Regions from separate parts of the Homo sapiens genome. Here all the other regions are linked to region 1. Evidence: promoter capture Hi-C in 16 types of primary human blood cells and fetal thymus (Javierre and others, 2016). All regions are on one chromosome and are shown on one strand. Each heading gives the region's core, a stretch centred on a gene start or on the middle of the fragment in contact. The rest is flanking DNA. Distances are from core to core; before and after follow the strand shown. Region 1 holds the start of YARS2 (tyrosyl-tRNA synthetase 2). Region 2 holds the start of DENND5B-AS1 (DENND5B antisense RNA 1). Region 3 overlaps LOC124902913 (a long non-coding RNA gene). Region 4 holds the start of ETFBKMT (electron transfer flavoprotein subunit beta lysine methyltransferase).

What was found. Contacts are between HindIII fragments. The CHiCAGO score rates a contact against its expected background, and 5 or more counts as called.
Region 2: the fragment with the promoter of DENND5B-AS1 here is called in contact with the fragment with the promoter of YARS2 in region 1 in 3 of 17 cell types (activated CD4 T cells, fetal thymus and naive CD8 T cells); the score reaches 5.4 in activated CD4 T cells.
Region 3: a fragment that was not itself captured here is called in contact with the fragment with the promoter of YARS2 in region 1 in 4 of 17 cell types (total CD4 T cells, naive CD8 T cells, total CD8 T cells and 1 more); the score reaches 8.9 in total CD4 T cells.
Region 4: a contact is called between a fragment that was not itself captured here and the fragment with the promoter of YARS2 in region 1, in 2 of 17 cell types (naive CD8 T cells and total CD4 T cells). The highest score is 5.5, in naive CD8 T cells.

Annotation. Positions count from the first base shown.
Region 1 is chr12:32,753,753-32,758,321 of GRCh38, reverse strand. YARS2 (tyrosyl-tRNA synthetase 2) reads left to right here and starts at 2,425. Exons shown (of 5, transcript NM_001040436.3): 1 at 2,425-3,226; 2 at 4,237-4,404. The coding sequence starts at 2,448. RefSeq lists enhancers at 1,566-2,205, 2,410-2,639, 2,660-2,759, 2,206-2,845, 3,130-3,289 and 1 more. The HindIII fragment of the contact is 6,832 bases long and covers 736-4,569 here.
Region 2 is chr12:31,588,043-31,592,611 of GRCh38, reverse strand. DENND5B-AS1 (DENND5B antisense RNA 1) reads right to left here and starts at 2,689. Exons shown (of 3, transcript NR_046909.1): 1 at 2,493-2,689. DENND5B (DENN domain containing 5B) reads left to right here and starts at 1,476. Exons shown (of 21, transcript NM_144973.4): 1 at 1,476-1,906. The coding sequence starts at 1,780. RefSeq lists enhancers at 666-895, 2,876-2,955 and silencers at 1,326-1,615, 1,686-1,955, 2,106-2,445. The HindIII fragment of the contact is 7,998 bases long and covers 1-4,569 here.
Region 3 is chr12:31,640,598-31,645,166 of GRCh38, reverse strand. All of the region lies in intron 1 of LOC124902913 (a long non-coding RNA gene), which reads left to right. Among named protein-coding and RNA genes, the nearest start is that of ETFBKMT, 17 kb to the left of the region's middle. The HindIII fragment of the contact is 8,322 bases long and covers 1-4,569 here.
Region 4 is chr12:31,659,674-31,664,242 of GRCh38, reverse strand. ETFBKMT (electron transfer flavoprotein subunit beta lysine methyltransferase) reads right to left here and starts at 4,555. Exons shown (of 4, transcript NM_001135863.2): 1 at 4,454-4,555; 2 at 1,976-2,402. The coding sequence starts at 2,289. RefSeq lists an enhancer at 2,041-2,160. The HindIII fragment of the contact is 609 bases long and covers 1,561-2,169 here.

The DNA.
Region 1 (4,569 bases), core at 1,176-3,675:
TCAAGTAACCCTGGCATACTGTTGTAACAAGTAGGATTTTCAAATTACTAACACACCTGTAAAAGCCAGAGAGTTGTGTGTCACCAGAAACACATGTGTGCCCTATGTATTAAGGTACTAAATAGAAAGCACCATTTGCTGTGTGTGTGACAGTACTGATTCCATGTTAGAAGAAAGCTTGCTTACTTGAATACAATTATTACTTTGCTTGATTTTGTAGATCATTCACTAAAATCAGCCTCAGAAAAACAGGATCTTGAACAGAGATAAAAGAAAATACCTAGATCAGCCTCTCTGTGAATGGGCTGACCGACCTAATAAGAATAGGCTGATGGTACCTGCAGAAAGCCACAAAATATTGACCAAGAAAGCAATGATTTACTGCCGACCTGAGACTGCACACGTTTCACAAAAATCTTTTTATCATCCTTTCTCTTAATTGCCCTTAAAAACCAGAGGTGGTCTTTGAACGCTAGCTCACTGCATCCCCCAGGGTTGCTGGTCTCTTGAATAAAGCTAACTTTACTTTCACTACAGCTCTTCTCTTGGGTTTTTGGCTTTCAAGTGACAAGTGGCCCAGATGTGAGTTTCCTTACGTGTGCTCAGGAGAATTTCCTGCCATACCTACTGAAATCTGTCCCTGATCAAAGTGGTGGACCATATGACTGCAGATTGGCCTTGCGAAGTAGCTCATGCCTGTAATCCCAACACTTTGGGAGGCAGAGGTGGGAAGCTTGCTTGAGGCCAGGAGTTTAGGACCACCCTGGGCAATACAGTGAGACCCCCGTCTCTACAAAAACAAAAAATAAAAATTAGCCAGGCATGGTAGTCCACACCTGTAGCTCCAGCTACTTGGGAGGCTGAGGCAGGAAGATCGCTGGAGCCTAGGAGTTCAAGGCTGCAGTGAACCATGATCCTGCCACGGCACTCCAGTGTGGACAACAGAGTGACACTTAAAAAAAAAAAAAACACTGAAGATCAACAGGTTATGATTGCAAATTTTAAGATATTTTGAACACACTATTTTCTTAAGCAGTTGGGAGTATGTTTAATAGCCTATTGAATGAGTATCTCAAAATCCTATTGAAGTTACTATTTGGCAATGAGAAACTAATTCACTGATAATTATACATGCAAAGAAACTAATTATTAAAATAAGTTTTCATTTTGTTAGATAACTTTATAACGTTAAAAAATGGAAAAGTCCTGTAGGGAATGATTTGGAACATGGCCCAGATCCCAGTCACAGGACCAAGGCACTCAATCCCCCAGCTGCTGGGAGTGTTGGTTGCTTATTGCTCACAGCTGAGTCCCTTCCTGCACATCTCACTCTCCAAAAGCCTTAACCCAGCGTTTTGCTTCCTCCCCAGAAACATCCCACATTTAATGAGCAGTCAGTAAGAGGGTCTAAAGGTCTGCCCCCTGGCCTCAATTCAGGATGACTCTGAAAGGAAATCCCGGCTCCAGAGCCCTTACTGGATTGCCTGAGGCCTCTATTACAAATTGTTCACAGTTCAACTTCTTTCTCCCTCCGCCCAACCCGGCCTCCCTCACTCCATTATAGGTGTTGTTCTTAAGAGCACACTCCAATTACCCTCCTGCAAACCAGTCTCCCCCCCAACTCAGAGTCCAGGGAATTCTACCTAAGACGATTTTGAAAGCGGTCCTAGAAATCAGGCTCTAACATGGGATTTTGAAGCTAGATCACCTGCCAGCCAGCTGCCAATAAGAACCTCATCCCTGGTCAGTATTCAGAGCACCTGTCACGCTGCACGATGTGATTACTAACTTGAATCCACTCATGCTAAGCTGTGTCCCAACCTAGTTAACTGTATTTAAAATAAATAAACCACAGGACTTGATGCATGTACTTTATTGCACTGAGTTTTTCTTGCTATACCTTGGACAAGACTGCCACCTCCTGGAAGAGCCGATGAATACTGGGGACGAGGTGCAATTAGGGAATCGGTACTATGAAATTGCTTGCGTCTCAGCAGCAACTCCCTATCTCTCCGCGAACTTAAACCAATTCCTAACCTTTCTCAACCTCTGTGAACAGCTTTTTGCATGGAACCAAGACTTCAAAGAACTTGCGCATCACAATCTTTTTACGTGAAAATGTAAATACAAGTTAGCATTTGTGAAGCGTTATGTGCCAAATGCTTTAATTTTTAAGGCTCACAACAGCCTTATGAGGTAGGAACTATCATAAGCAGATCCACACTGCTGATGGAAAAATTAAGTTTAAGGGAACGTAAGGCGACGGCTCTGAGGCGGAATCGCCACTTGGAGTCGGGACTCAACTGCTGAGAGCGCAAGCTCCGTAACTACGTAACCGTCTCGGGCATGCGCAGAAAAACACTGAAGCACCTTCCCTAGGAGCTGTAAGTAGGTGGGTGTGGTGGGAGCCTCTGCAATCCCAGCATTCCCTTCGTGCCGCTACCAAGATGGCGGCGCCCATCTTGCGGTCCTTTTCCTGGGGCCGGTGGTCTGGTACCCTAAATCTCTCAGTATTGTTGCCCTTGGGGCTGCGTAAGGCCCACTCGGGCGCTCAGGGGTTACTGGCAGCGCAGAAGGCTCGAGGTCTGTTCAAGGACTTCTTCCCGGAGACGGGGACGAAAATAGAGCTCCCAGAGCTCTTCGACCGTGGCACGGCGAGTTTTCCCCAAACCATTTACTGTGGCTTCGACCCCACGGCAGACTCGCTTCATGTGGGTCATCTACTTGCGCTGCTGGGCCTGTTTCATTTGCAGCGAGCGGGCCACAACGTGATCGCGCTGGTGGGAGGCGCCACGGCGCGCCTGGGAGACCCGAGCGGCCGTACCAAGGAACGCGAGGCGCTGGAGACAGAGCGCGTGCGAGCCAACGCGCGAGCTCTGCGCCTAGGGCTTGAGGCCCTGGCGGCTAATCACCAGCAGCTTTTCACTGATGGGCGCTCCTGGGGCAGCTTCACTGTGCTGGACAACTCGGCCTGGTACCAGAAGCAGCACCTGGTGGACTTCCTGGCGGCAGTGGGGGGTCACTTCCGCATGGGGACGCTGCTGAGCCGGCAGAGCGTGCAGCTGCGGCTCAAGAGCCCCGAGGGCATGAGCTTGGCCGAGTTCTTTTACCAGGTGCTCCAGGCCTATGACTTCTATTACCTCTTCCAGCGTTATGGATGCAGGGTCCAGCTGGGCGGATCTGATCAACTAGGCAACATCATGTCCGGATATGAGTTCATCAACAAGTAAGTGCCTTTAAACCTTGGGGAAATCCTGGGACCAAATAATTTACACACTAGTAGCCTGTGATTCACTCTTAGGATTGTAGTTGCTGCCCTTCGTTCCAGCTCTTGTTGGTTTTATCCCCATTAAGGCTCTATAATGGCGTTAATAACACTGGCTAATAAGAATTAAAGGGCTGAATTAAGGGTATTAAGAGTAAACGGTGTATTCTAAAAATTAGCTGGGCGTGGTGATGCACGCCTGTAATCCCAGCTATTCGGGAGGCTGAGGCAGGAGAATCTCTTGAACCCGGGAGGCGAAGGTTTCAGTGAGCCGAGATCGCGCCACTGCACTCCAGCCTGGGGCAACAGAGGGAGACTCCGTCTCAAAAAAAAAAAAAAAAAAAAGGGAAACAGACCACTAGTGAAGATTTGGTCGGTCTGTTTTGCTTCGCCTAAGTCGTCCTCTCTAATTAGAGAAACTGCTTTTGTGTGTTTATACCAGAACGTGACTGGGCCTCCTTGAGTAGCTAGCCTCTGCTTTAGCTCTGCACCCTCCATGAAACTAGTGTTAGTCCTTGGTTGGTATCTCAAAAAGTTTTTTCAACTCCAAATAATTGACAAGTAATGCGGGTCTAATAGCATTTTCTTGAGAGAGGTGAAGGATAGGGCTAGCTCATGTGCAACAGAGCAAAGCACATGTTTAAAAGGCGTTTAGAAGATTTCCTTTAGTGTCTCTTCCTGACACCCCTTCACCCAGTTTTCTCCTTCCCACTCAGCCTTTCAAAATCTCTAGTCCATTGTTATGTAGCACTTCCCCTTGGCCTGCCTAGAACCTGCCTGGAACCACTCATGAGGTTCAGAATGAATAGAGTAAGTACTGTAACAATACATAAGAGGAACAAGAATTCAGATTTAGGAGGTCAAGGAAGTTTTCCTGGAGCAAGTAACCAGAAAGAAATCTGGAAGGTGAACAGTAGAACCTACCACCACTTGTGCTTGAGGCACATAATGAAATTGTTCTTTATGCGTAGGTTGACTGGAGAAGATGTATTTGGAATCACCGTTCCTCTAATTACAAGTACAACTGGAGCAAAGCTGGGAAAGTCTGCTGGCAACGCTGTTTGGCTAAACAGAGATAAGACATCTCCATTTGAATTGTATCAATTCTTTGTCAGGCAACCGGACGATTCAGTGGAAAGGTGAGTTCTGAATAATGGGCTGAGAAAAACTGACACCATAAACTCATGATGTAATTTTAGCCATTGAATCTATGTACATTTTATAGTTTTTTTGTTTTTAACGTAGTTTCTGTCTGTACATAAACCATTACATCATAGAAGACTAATTTTTACTGTGTTCTAAAG
Region 2 (4,569 bases), core at 1,440-3,939, 1.2 Mb after region 1:
TTTTGCCCAGGTTGGTCTTGAATTCCTGGACTCAAATGCTCCTCCTGCCTTGGCCTCTCAAAGTGCTGGGATTACAGGCCTGAGCCACCATGGCCAGCCTCTTTCATTTCAAAATTGAAGAAAGAAAGTGAAGATACAAGCTACATTAAATGATGGTATGCACGCACATGTATCTTCTAGGAAGAACATTATTCAGTCAAATAATCGAGGTTCTCTCAGGCAACCTCTCTGGAAGGTTTGCTTGTATGTCTAGTGGTAGATGCCCCAAATCCCCAAAGAAGAAAGCAGGGAGTGGTGTGGAAGGGGTTGCCATGTGGAGATGAATTGCATTCAGTTTTCTATCTTTTAAGTTTTATTTTTACTTACATGGCCGGGCACAGTGGCTTATTATGCCTGTAATCCTAGCACATTTGGGGGCCAAGGCGGGAGGATCACTTGAACCCAGGAGTTTGAGAGCAGCCTGGTCAATACAGTGAGACCCTGTCTCTTAAAAAATTATTTTTTAAATAAATAAATGTTATTTTTTTACTTAGATGGAGACAGAGTCTCCCTCTATTGCCCAGGCTGGTCTTGAACTCCTGGTCTCATGTGATCTTCCTACCTGGGCTTCCCAAAGTGTTGAGTAAATTACAGGTGTGAGCCACTGAGCCCAGCCAGTTTTCTTTCAAAGGAAAAAGAACTGGTTGTCGAGTTCCTTCCGAGAAGGCAAAAGACAGCTGAGCAGGGCAAGAAAGCCGTGCCTTTGGGAGGAGCAGAGTTCATGGTCTAATTCCTGTTGCTTTAGCCTCCGATTGTTACTTGCGGGGAGAGCCGATAACATCGGATGGGTACAGGGCTGCGGAACTGGAGCGCCTTGGCTATTTACACTGACCTGGAAAATGTCAGGATAAATGACAGAAGGCGGGGGTTGGTGACTGCACTCCTTCTAGAAGTCTCAACGCTTTGTGGGTATTGAGTTGTGTTTTTTCCCCCTCACGGTTGACTTGTCACTAAGTCACTAAGGATGGCCTGTAAATGGGGTGACGGCTGGGGGAAGGGAGGACCTTAAAGTGAGACAGGCACCCCCACACAGGTCACAGTTTAAAAGACGATGGTTCAGACCGTTATGCGAAATGATCTCAGAGCGGCTGTTCACCTTCCCCAAAGCTGCATTAAAAGAAATAAGGATGGGTGACAACCCCTTTAGAAGACAGACCCCCACACTGAGGCTAGCCCTCTTATCGGCTGGCCAGGGCGAGGAGGGGTGTGTGCAGGGTCGCCCTCGATGCCGCAGCCGGGGCCAGTGGGCACGAATGCGGCCCCACGCCAGGCTTGGCCTCCGAACCCGCTAGGCGCGCGCGCACGGTAGAAGCGCGCGCCTCCGTCCCTCGCGAGCGCGCCCCCCACCCCTCTCCGTCGCACGCGCCGAGCCCCGGCGCCCCCGCCCGCCCCGCGCTCCCACAGCCCGAGCGCCGCTCAGCTGACCCGCGGGCGCCAGACGCGGCGGCTCTCAGCTCGCGAGCGCAGCTGCGGCTGCGAGGGCCTCTCAGGCCGACACTCCCCCCGCGCCCCTCCCCCACCCGGCCGGGCTCCGGACCCGCCGCGCGCGAGCCCGCGGCCGCTTCCCCCGCGCCGAGCGAGGAGGCAGGCTGCGGCGGCGAGAGGCGGCTGCGCGGCCATGGGCGCGCCAGTGTCGCCCTAGGGCGGGCGCACAGACCACAGCCGGAGCGGTGGTGGCAGCCTCCGCAGAAAGCCTTCCCGGGCGGCGGCGGCGGCGGCCCCTGGAGCAGCGCGGCCGGGATGAGCGGGAGCTGCGCGGCGCCCGGCCCGGGCTCGGGCTCCTCCCCGGCCGCCTGCCGCTTCGCGCACTACTTCGTGCTGTGCGGGATCGACGCGGACAGCGGGCTGGAGCCTGACGAGCTGGCGGGTAAGGCCAGGGCTGCGGCGGCGCTGAGCCCCCTCAGGGGCGCGGGGGACGCTGTGGGGACGCGCGGGAGGCGGGGTGCAGGCTCCAGACAAAGTCAGCTCCCGGTGGCGCCCTCCCGCCGCTTTCTGGCCGAACTGGCGCTCGGGCGCGATTTAATGACATTGTTATTTATTCCGCGTGCGGGCTTTGCGGCTGCGCCCACCGGGGCTTTCGCCTCCAGGCGCTGGGTTATTAATAACAGGCGCGGGGGTGGCCCCAAGGGCACGGACCCCGCCTGGCGCGCCGGCCCCTTCGCTTGCAGCCGCACTCGGAGGCGGCCGGTGAGTCACCGGGCGCGCGGGCTGCCCCCCGACCGCCGTGCCTGCCTCCCACCCGCCAGCCACCCGGCCCCGGCCGCGAAGTTTCGGCCCCGCACGTGACGCGGCTTTCGGGCCTCTTCGGGAGACGGGGAGTCGGACTCAGCTCGGCTCCCGCCGGGGTAGCGTCCGCGGAGGAGCCGGTGGCCGTGCGGAGCGAGCGCGGGGCGGGGACCGGTCGGACTCTGCCCTCTGCGCCGCCTGCCGCTCTGCGGTGCCGGCCAAGTCACCTTTTGGAATCCTGTGGATTTGGCCGCGTCTGGGAGCTGGCAGGGACCTTTGGACGCTCGGGACCCAGCACCGCGCTTTGTTGACACTGCCTACACTGTTCCCGAGTTTAAATTCAGTTGGGTGCACCGTGTGTTAGTGCCTGGTTTTCCCGGAGGGGTACCGGTCCTTCCGCTTGACTCATTTGATGGCGCAGTGCGGGGCTGTGCTGGGCAAACGACGCCGTTAAAAGGGGCCGCTAAAGGGCGATGGGCGGGGGCAGGGCAGCGGAGTGCGCAGTGTCGAGAGGAGGCCGGGGAGAAACAACTGATTTCATTTTTCACGCCTGTTCCTTTCTGCTTGCCTCCGCGGGATCTGAATCTTGATTTGTTGTTGTTGTTAAATGGGTGAGAGAAGTGACATCTACCGCCTGAACTTTGTGTTAAAGACTTAGGTCATAGCCTTTCAGAACAACTTCCTTTGGACAAATAATTCCTTATTGATTGCACTAACGTAAATTTTTCGCTTTTCCTTTGGTGGGGGTGGGGAGACTGGGAAGAATATATTAAATAATAAACAATAGTAAACAAAACTGTTCAGCCTTAAAATACAGTCCCCATCAACCCACGTCTTGGCTATCTTCTTCTTAACTCAGCTTCAGAGCAAAACATTTTCTTTTTTTCATATTCTTCGGAGGTAGAAACACAAAACATTTTCAACAAAAACTGTAAGTCTAGTTTTAGTTAAAAAAAAATTTGGAGAGATAATAGAATACCAAGTTTTTCCGTATGTGTAATTATGTAATCACATTGTTTCTTCAACTAAGATTTCATGTACATGTTAAGAATGGCTTTGTTAAAGGATATGAAGAAAAAATGTCTGCAGAGAGATTTGGAGAGATTCTTCTCGAGATTGGTGAAGGAATATTGTTATTTTTCTAGACTCCTTTCTTCCCTAAAGATCCTAAACATTTGTGGCACCAGGGTCACTTGGAGGCCTTCTGTCAGTGATGACTAATGAAAGGAAAAAAGCCTGTATTTTTCTTTTCCGTTTGCCTACTGAAGCTAAAACTGTACCTTTTAGGTGTGACCTAGGACTCTTTAGGCACAGAGAGAATGATGTTAACAAAACCATCAATTAGACTTTAATGCATTTTTAAGAAACAAACTATGATGTCTCTTTTTGCAAAACTGTGTGAGTGTGGGTGATTGGGATTTCTGCTTCTCATAATATTTAATGTATTCAGGTAATAATGTATTTTGCCTTGTAATATTTCAGTATCATTCATCCAACAGTTTTGAAAGCATCTATCTGTAGTCGGTTTTTTAGGCACTGGGGACAGCTGTGAAGAAAGCAGTCAGAAATCCCTGCCATCATGGAGCATACGTTCTAGTGTAAAGAGATAATGAAAATACAATCATCTCTCCGTAACCATGGGGGATGGATTCTAGAGTGTCCCCCACACCAAAATCCTCGGATGCTGAAGTCTCTTATAATAAAATGTTGTAGCATTTGTATATAACCTATGAACATTTTCCTGTACACTTTGTCATCTCTAGATTACTTACAATACCTGTTACGTTGTAATGTTATGTAAATAGTTGTTATACTGTATTGTTTAGGGAATAATGACAAGAAAAGAAGTCTGTACATGTTCAGTACAGATGCAACCATTGTAGGCCTAACTACATTTTCAATCTGTGCTTGGTTGAATCTGTGGATGCGGAGTCCACGTGAAGTGCCGACTGTATATAGTTCTCCAGATGTTAATAAGTGCTATGAGGAAAAATAAAGCAGGGGAGTGGATTTAGGGACATGCCAGCAGAGTGGTGGGATGGTGGGGTTGTGATTTTAAATAAGATGGTTAGGGAAGGCCTCACAGGGAGGGTGACATTTGAACAGAGCCTTGAAGGACATGAGGAAGCAGGCCAGATGGATCACCTGGGGGCACAGCATTGCACGCAGAAGAAACAGCAAGTGCGAAGACCCTGAGTGGGACAGTCACTAGTTTGTGCTGGTAACAGCAAGGAGTCCAGTATGGCTGGAGCTGAGGGAGAGGGAGAGTAGTAGGTAAGATCAAAGAGAAAGGGCAGGGGAGAT
Region 3 (4,569 bases), core at 1,062-3,561, 1.1 Mb after region 1:
TGATTACCTGAGGATCACTTGTGGTTCCAGCTACTTGGGAGGTCGAGGCTGCGGTGAGCCAAGATCATGTCACTGCACTCCAGCCTGGGCAACAGAAAGAGATCCTGTCTCAAAAAAAAAATTGCTCTCCCTCGACAGCCTGCTTAGACGGCACCTGGCTTCAACAAATAATGCCTTGAACATTAGTAGCAGTGCTGGGGAGGAAATGAGCTGAACCCAATACACTGGAGATGGTGGCCAGGGGGCCTCTCACAATTCCTGCTCCCACCTCATCCTGTAGCAAAAGAAGCACTTTCTTCCACTTCCTTATTGGTTCTGTGAGGGTTAATTCTATGTGTCAGCTTGACTGGGTTGCAATGTGTTCAGACAGTTAGTCAAACATTCCTCTGGGTGTTCCTCTGAGGGTATTTCTGAAAGAGATGAACATTTGAGCCCGGGCGTGGTGTCTCACGCCTGTAATCCGAACACTTTGGGAGGCTGAAGGAGGTGGATCACCTGGGGTCAGGAGTTTGAGAACAGCCTGGCCAACATGATGAAACCCCATCTCTACTAAAAATACAAAAAATTAACCGGGCGTGGTCGACAGTGTCCCCTGGCACCGCTGTATGTGCAGCAACAGATAGGTAAAATCTAAGGTTTTAGGACAGATGTGTGAAGGCTGCTGGTGAATGGATGGGACCAGGACAAAGAGGGTACCTCAAGTACAAGGTGCTCTTTGATCAAGCCAAGGACCATTACGGGTTGCAGGGTTGTTTCCCTCCCGGTCAGCCCTGACAGCTAAAGGGACATCATTTATGCCAGTGCTCCAAGCCACCCTTCAGCTCTTTTGGTTAAACCAACATGTATGGCTCTGGGCTGGGCATGGTGGTGCACGCCTATAATCTCAGCAGTTTGGGAAGCCGAGGCGGGAGGATTGCTTGAGCCCAGGAGTTTGAGGCTAGCCTGGGCAACATAGCGAAACCCCAACTCTACAAAAAAATACAAAAATTAGCCGGGTGTGGTGGAGTGCACCTGTAATCCCACCTACTTGGGGGCTGAGGTGTGAGGCTCACTTGGGCTTGGGCAGATGAATGTGCAGTGAGCTGTGATCATGCCACTGCACTCCAGGCTGGGTGACAGAGGGAGACCCTGTCTCAAAAAAAAAAAAAAAAAAATGTATGGCTCTGGCATTTTTCACGTTTGCTGAAGCATGTTCCTTGGGGGCATAATGAGAACACAGGAACCTTGTCTATAATGCATAATGACCATCGGAGGAAAGAATCCCCAGCTAGCTCCATTGTCAGCAACTATCAAGAACCTGCTAGGGGGCCAGGTGCGGTGTCTCATGCCTGTAATCTCAGCACTTTGGGAGGCCGACGCAGGCGGATCACTTGAGGTCAGGAGTTCGAAACCAGCCTGGCCAACATGATGAAACTCCGTCTCTACTAGAAAAAATATAAAAATTGTCCAGGTGCGGTGGCTCACGCTTATAATCCCAGCACTTTGGGAGGCCGAGGTGGATGGATCACTTGAGGTCAGCAGTTCAAGACCAGGCTGGCCAAAATGGTGAAACCCTGTCTCTACTAAAAATACAAAAATTAGCTGGGCGTGGTGGCATGCCCCTGTAATCCCAGCTACATGGGAGGCTGAGGCAGGAGAATCGCTTGAACCCAGGAGGCAGAGTTTACAGTGAGCTGAGATCGCACCACTGCACTCCAGCCTGGGTGACAGAACAAGAGTCCGTCTCAAACAAACAAAAACGAAAAACAAAAATTAGCCCTGTGTGGTGGTGTGTGCCTGTAGTCCCAGCTACTCAGGAGGCTGAGGCAGGAGAATTGCTTGAACCCGGGAGGCAGAGGTTGCAGTGAGCTGAGATCACGCCACTGCACTCCAGCCTGGGCAACAGAGTGAGACTCCATCTCAGAAAAAAAAAAAAAAATTTGTGGGAGAAACAAAAATGAATAAGACTTCGGTCCTACCTTCATGGAGTTTTAATATGAATCTGAGTAGTTTCAAAATATGCCTAATGAGACTCAAAATAATCCATATGTCACAGAATGAATTCTGTTAAAGGGCAGAACAGAGTGGCTCTAAAGTCAATCTGTTCCACCACTTACTAGCTCTGTGAGCTTGATTAAGTGCCGTAACCTCTCTGTGCTTCGGTGAATTTGTCTATAAGATGAGAGAACAAGGCCGGGCACGGTGGCTCACACCTGTAATCCCAGCACTTTGGGAGGCCGAGGTGGGTGTATTGCTTGAGCTCAAGAGTTTGAGACCAGCCTGGGCAACATGGCGACACCCCATCTCTACTAAAAGTACAAAACAAAATAAAATTGAAAAATGAGAGAACAAGAAGTACCTACTTCATAGGTTGTGGTGAGGATTAAATGAGTCAATGCCTATAAACTTCTTAAAGCAAGGCCTGGAACATAGAAAATGTTCTATTAATATTAATAATAATTATTATTTAAACTATCAACAAATATTGTGTCTCTGCATGAGACGTAACAACCAAGAGTTTTATAAAGGTGGCACAAGGATACCTCATCTCTTGGTTATTTTGGGAGTCGGAAACATTGTAATGGAGACACTTAGTTTCCAGGCTCTCAAACAAAAGGTTCTCTAAGCCGTGTTATCACTTGAGAGTTGCATGTTTTCAGTTTAAAGACAAATTTAAGACCATTCTATTGTAATAACCGAAAATTAAATGGCACACTGATAAAAAGAGAACCAGCAGCGTTTTATTTACCTTGAAAGGTGGTAATTTAAGAAAAACAGGGGAGATTTTAACAGGATGAAGAGGAATATAAAAATTTGTGACAAGATGAAAAGAAATATCGGGGTACTTGAAAGGTTTTAGAGGTTGAGACTCAAGTATTTTTTTTAGAAAGTCTTATTTCACCCTGGGACTTACATGACTTTTTTTCCCCAGCCATTACTAGAAGGGGTTTTGCACCTCCACACGGTATTAAAAGCGACAGAAGAGGACAAAAGGAAGATATGTATACAGGAGGGAGAAATAAATTATGTGCAATGGAATTAACTCAGCTTTAAGAAATAAGGGCAGGATGGAGAGTCTTCAAAAGGAAATATAAAATATTCCCAGCAGTCCGGGACCTCTATACCTTCAATGATCGTGTTACCGGAAAAGGGATCTCTATCCAGACCCCAAGAGAACGTTCTTGGATCTCGAGCAGGAGGGACTTCAAAACGAGTCACAGAGTGCAGTGAAAGAAGCAACGTTATTAGAAACTACACTGTTAGAGTAGGGCATCCTCAGAAAGCAAGAGGAGGAACGCCTCGACTTTGTTTTTTGTTTTTCTTCTCTAGAGATCTTGTCTATATAAAGGCTAAGCTAAGCTGTGTCCACGTGTGGGTGAGCAGACAGCATGACAGAATGTATGACTACTGATTTAAAGAAAACTGGCCTTGACATTCTAGTGTGTGGATACATCAAAGCAAAACTATTATTATCTTGAAAACAGAGATTGTTATGGGTATTGGACATCTGGACTCTTGGCTGTAGTAGGAGTGTGTCCTTGTAGGTATCTTTAGGCTGTTTCTTCCACTGTAAACAGCCCATGAATGTGGGTCGTGACCAGCAGAGAATGGGCTTTACTATTTCTCAAGATGGAGCTGAACTTAAAATGGTGCTACTCTGGCCCTCCTAGGCTCCTGGTTCCCTAACATTACCCCCACTAATTTTGAGGGAACCCTTAATCTTTTTGTTTTGTTTTGTTTTTTTGAGACAGGGTCTCGCTCTGCCACCCAGGCTAGAGTGTGGTGGTGCGATCTTGGCTCACTGCAGCCTCTGCTTCCCGGGCTCAAGTGATTCTCGTGCCTCATCCTCCCAAGTATCTGGGATTACAAGCATGCGCCACTATGCCCAGCTAAGAGAGCCCTTAATTTTAAGAGGAGAGGAGGGTGAAGGTCATTCTTCTGTAACTTCTTCCTGCTGATAGTGGACATCGATTGCTGGGACAGGGTCCTTTCACGAAAGCATGCAGTGAGCCTCCTCAGGGAGCCAGGTGGTTCCTTGCTTGAGCAATGTCCCAATAGTTCCTATAAAGGTAAAATATGAAATGAGTAAATAGATGGGCAAAGAAGTTGCTGAGCTATTTTATCTTGCAAACCTACACAAGTGCAACAGAAGTAAAAAGCACAGCAATTTATAATAACGAGTATTACAATACCAAGCATGCTGAAAAGAAATGCTTTCCAAGTACTGGATAGCTAACAAACCAGGCCATTATGGGGCCTTGAGACAGAGAATTAATGCTGTAATGTGAGTTTCCAAGGAACTCATAGCCTGGGATACATTATGGGAATACTCAGGAATATAAATACAACATTCAGTTTTGATCAGGGCAAAAATTCCCCCTTGGGCTGCAGTTAAAATGTCTAAAGCCATACAGTTTTGTAGAGCCATTTGTCTTATTTGGTAAGTCTCTTCTGTCAGAAGGGTGATAGCCTGGTAAGTATTTTTTTTTTTTTGAGACGGAGTCTCGCTCTGTTCCCCAGGCTGGAGTGCAGTGGTGTGGTCTCAGCCCACTGCAAGCTCTGCCTCCCAGGTTCACACCATTCTCCTGC
Region 4 (4,569 bases), core at 616-3,115, 1.1 Mb after region 1:
AATAGTTACCAAACAAGCGAAGAGGGATGGAGAAACGCTGAAATAACAAATTTCAGCTGACTCTTGATCTTCGGATTGGAGTAATAAGGAACAGTGGGTACTACTGAGGCAGGAGAATGGCAGAGGAAGTCAGGGGTGAAGGGGACCCGTTGGACATAGGCTAGCTGAAGCAATACCAAAAGCAAAGCATACAAGATAGCAGAAACAGGACATATGAAATAAGACAGTAAGCAGTAAGAGATACGGGAGTAAGCAATGAGTTAGAACATGCAAGATAAGGAAAATAAGTGGAAAGGGGTTGCAGTAGCAATTTGGTTACAAGAACTAAAAGTAAAGATGAGCAATTTTGTCAGAAAAGATAAAATAAGGTTAAGCAAGGATGCACAATTAGCTTATGAGAAATAAAGTGCGGTTTAGGCACAATGAGGGAAAGGCCAGGATGAGCAATTCACTTACGAAAAACAAAGTAAGGTTAAGCAAGTGAGGAAAAAACATATAAAAGGCCATGAACTATAACAAACTGGGGCTGATACCACTCGCAGGTCAGCCTGATCCGTTGCTGATTGCATTCTGCTTAACAAACTGTTTGCTGCCTTGCTACTTGTATGTGTCATGTCCAATTCTTTGTTGATGGCACTAAGAACCTGGGACTTGACATCAACCAGTTAACACTATGGCAAAGTAGAGGCATACATGCCCTGTCTAAATAGCTGCTACTGCCAGGCACGATGGCTCATGCCTGTAATCCCAGCACTTTGGGAGGCCGAGGCTGGCGGATCACTTGAGGTCAGGGGTTCGAGACCAGCCTGGTCAACATGGTGAAACCCTGTCTCTACTAAAAATACAAAATTAAGCCAGGCGCGGTGGCTCACGCCTGTAATCCCAGCACTTTGGGAGGCCGAGGAGGGCGGATCACGAGGTCAGAAGTTCGAGACCAGCCTGATCAACATGGTGAAACCCCATCTCTACTAAAAATACAAAAATTAGCCGGGCATGGTGGCATGAGCCTGTAGTCCCAGCTACTCAGGAGGGTGAGGCAGGAGAATGGCGTGAACCCGGGAGGCGGGGCTTGCAGTGAGCCGAGATCACACCACTGCACTCCAGCCTGGGTGACAGAGTGAGACTCTGTCTCAAAAAAAAAAAAAATTTTTTTTTGTAGAGATAGGGGTATCACTATGTTGCCTACGCTGGTCTCAAACTCTTGACTTCAAGCTGTCCTCCTGCACTGGCTTCCTAAAGCACTGGGATTACAGGCACTGCACCCAACAGAAGAGGGAAACTTTGAACAGCCCACTCACTCACAGCTCCTGTTTTATGGGAAAATAAGCAACTCTGGAAGGAATGTGAGGTTTATGGAGCGACATTCACTGAATTAAAGGAGAGCGAAAGGACTGGGTGTTTAGCTTCCATCTAGGAACTCTGCAATGGTCATGCGCTATGAACTATGAACCTCCTAACAGGTGAGATTTCTGGATCACTTATAGCTATCCAGGGTCTTGACAGCTGACTCTAGGATTTCTCTTGGGGAGACAGTTACTTGGGAAAATAGCTTGATAAGCTTGGGTTAGAATGGGAAATTACGCAACAAGGCAACAAAAAATATGGCTAACCTGAGGCTAGGCTCAGAGGCTCATGTCTGTAATACCAGCACTTGGGGAGGTTGAGGAGGCCAGATGTTTAAGACCAGCCTGGACAACATAGCAAGATCCTGTCTCTACCAAAAAAAAAAAAAAAAAAGAAAGAAAGAAAAAAGAAAACAACAAGACTGAGTTTTGCCGGTTTCTGTTTTGTTTTTGAGACAGGCCAGGCGAGAGTGCAGTGGCAGGATCACAGCTTACAGCCTCAGCCTCCCAAAGTACTGAGACTACAGGCATGAGCCACCACGCCTAGCATTGCTCTGGTTTTTTGTAGAGGTTGGAGGGAACTGAAAACAGCAAAGATCTGTAGCGCCTTAAAGGTTTCATTAGGGTAGTACCTAGACAGGGCTTGGCCTCCTGGCCAGTAGATTGCCCAGTAAGGATCACTGTGGGGCCACAGGTCAGCTCTCTCCCACCAGAATTTGCATCTGGGGGTCAAAAGCCGCAACTGGATTTCAGGGGTGAGGCTACCACTGCTGGTGACTTCAGTGTTCTCCTCCAGGAAAGCCTTTATCTCAGGGTCCAAAAAGCTTCCAGCTCCTCTCCAGGGACACTGGCCACAGGGAAACAAGAGAAGACCACTGCTTCGCAGAGCCTGCAAGAGGAGACCACAGTGGTTCCTGTGTGCTTTCCAACCTAGACTCAAAGCCATCAGTCCTTTCCCCAAACACAGGTTCTGTCAATGTTCTGTTGATAATAGCTGCTTCTCAAGGAGAATGAACAAGGGTGTGTCTCCCAACTTGATCTCAACCGGAACCTCTGACTCTGAAAAAAAAAAGAAAAGTAATACTGAGAATTCTGAGGAAGAGCAACATTTCTAGATCCTATTACATAATAAGAAAATATTGGCCGGGCGCGGTGGCTCACGCCTGTAATCCCTGCACTTTGGGAGGCCAAGGCGGGTGGATCACGAGGTCAGGTGTTCAAGACCAGTGTGGCCATCATGGTGAAACCCTGTCTCTACTAAAAATACAAAAAATTAGCCAGGCGTGGTGGCGGGTACCTGTAATCTCACTACTTGAGAATTGCTTGAACCCGGGAGGCGGAGGTTGCAGTGTGCCGAGATCGCACCATTGCATTCCAGCCTGGGCAACAAGAGCAAAACTCCGTCTCATAAAAAAAAAAAAGAAATAAAATATTACAGTGTATATTACTGTATCTGATGATTCACATGTGCAAGTTCATTTCAGATGAAAGCTTTGGTGCATCAATTGGGAAAATCCAATCTTTTTAAATGATACTTTTCACAAGAGAATCCTTTTAGTAATTTAACACAACAAATATACAAGCATTTGATTTTGAAAGAATCCTCAAGAAAATGCCTCTTACAGGAAATCAGCCATACAGTCATCCTTCAGTATCCTCAAGTGATTGGTTCCGGTATCCCCTGCTTCCAGGATACCACAATCAGAGGATACTCAAGTCCCTTATATAAAATGGCATCATATTTGTATATAAACTAGGCATATGCTGTGGTATACTTTACTTTAAATCATCTCTGGATGACTCATAATACTTAATACAACGTAAATGCTATATAAGTAGTTGTTACACTATTTTTGTGTTATTTTTATTGTTGTAATTTTATATTGCTATATTGTTATATTGTGGGCCAACTGTACCTTTAAAGTTCTTTCATAAATTTAACAAAGTAGGCATGCTTGGTAACTGTGAACAAAATAACAGAAGTCTTCTGTCTTCAGGAAGCTTATATTCTAGTGGTGGGATAAAGCAGTTAACAGGGCAAACACAGTTTTTGCCTTTATGAAGTCTAGCCAAGAGTTCTGGGGGTTAATGAATTTATAATTGTCTGTGGGCAGAGATATATTAATACAAATTATATTGACTACTCTATTTCATTAAAGATTGTTGTATCATAAAACAATGCAATCAAGATTCAGGTTTTTTCCTTTAAAAATACTGTATGCATTTAATTGTAATAAAAGAACATCAACTCCTAAATCTCTTTCTGTAAAAGTATCTGATGGTTCGATTTTACCAAGCCTAAACTGAAAAGATTTGCTCCAACAGAAAAACACCTGTGCAATTGATCACTAAGATTTGTTTAAAAATATATATATATAGAAAAACACCCGGATTAGAATAAATGAGAATGAGGAACAACTTAAACACAACTTATACACCCAGTTGTTTGGGGACCTCGGATCTCTTCTGCATAAATGTTTTAAATGGTCTTAAATCCACTAAAGTATTTAGGGGTCAAAAATCCAAATCCCCACAAGGGGCTGGACATCATAAATGAGTGATGCAGGCTGGCTGTAAAATAACAGAGGGGCTGTGGCAAGCTGGAGACTGTTTTCAAACAGTTCAAAAAGGCTAGGCAGGACATGCTGCCAGATCCTCCGATTTCTCAAAATCATCAAAAAAATCTAGATATTGACACATTAGCTTCCACCTTTTTTTTTTTTTTTTTTTTTTTTTTTGAGACAGAGTCTCTGTTGCCCAGGCTGGAGTGCAGTGGCGTGATCTCGGCTCACTGCAACCTCCGACTCCCAGGTTCAAGCGATTCTCCTACCTCAGCCTCCCGAGTCCTGGGATTACAGGGGCGTGCCACCACGCCCGGCTAATTTTTGTATTTTTTTTTTTTTTTTTTTTTTTAGTAGAGACGAGGTTTCGCCATGTTGGCCAGACTGGTCTGGAACTCCTGACCTGAAGCGATCCTCCTGCCTCGACCTCCCAAAGTGCTGGGATTACAGGCGCGAGCCACCACGCCCGGCCAGCTTCGGCTTGTAAACATCAGCAACTCATTCAAATATCAAAACACAGGGCAGGTCAAAATGCATGTCAGGTCATACATAGCCTGTGAACTCAGCGTAGACTTCCAGTGGGTGTTAGTTACCCCACATCAGTGTCCTGGGATCGTAGGGGTCTCTCAGGGCCTGGTATCCCACTAGACTAATTGTTAAGCAGT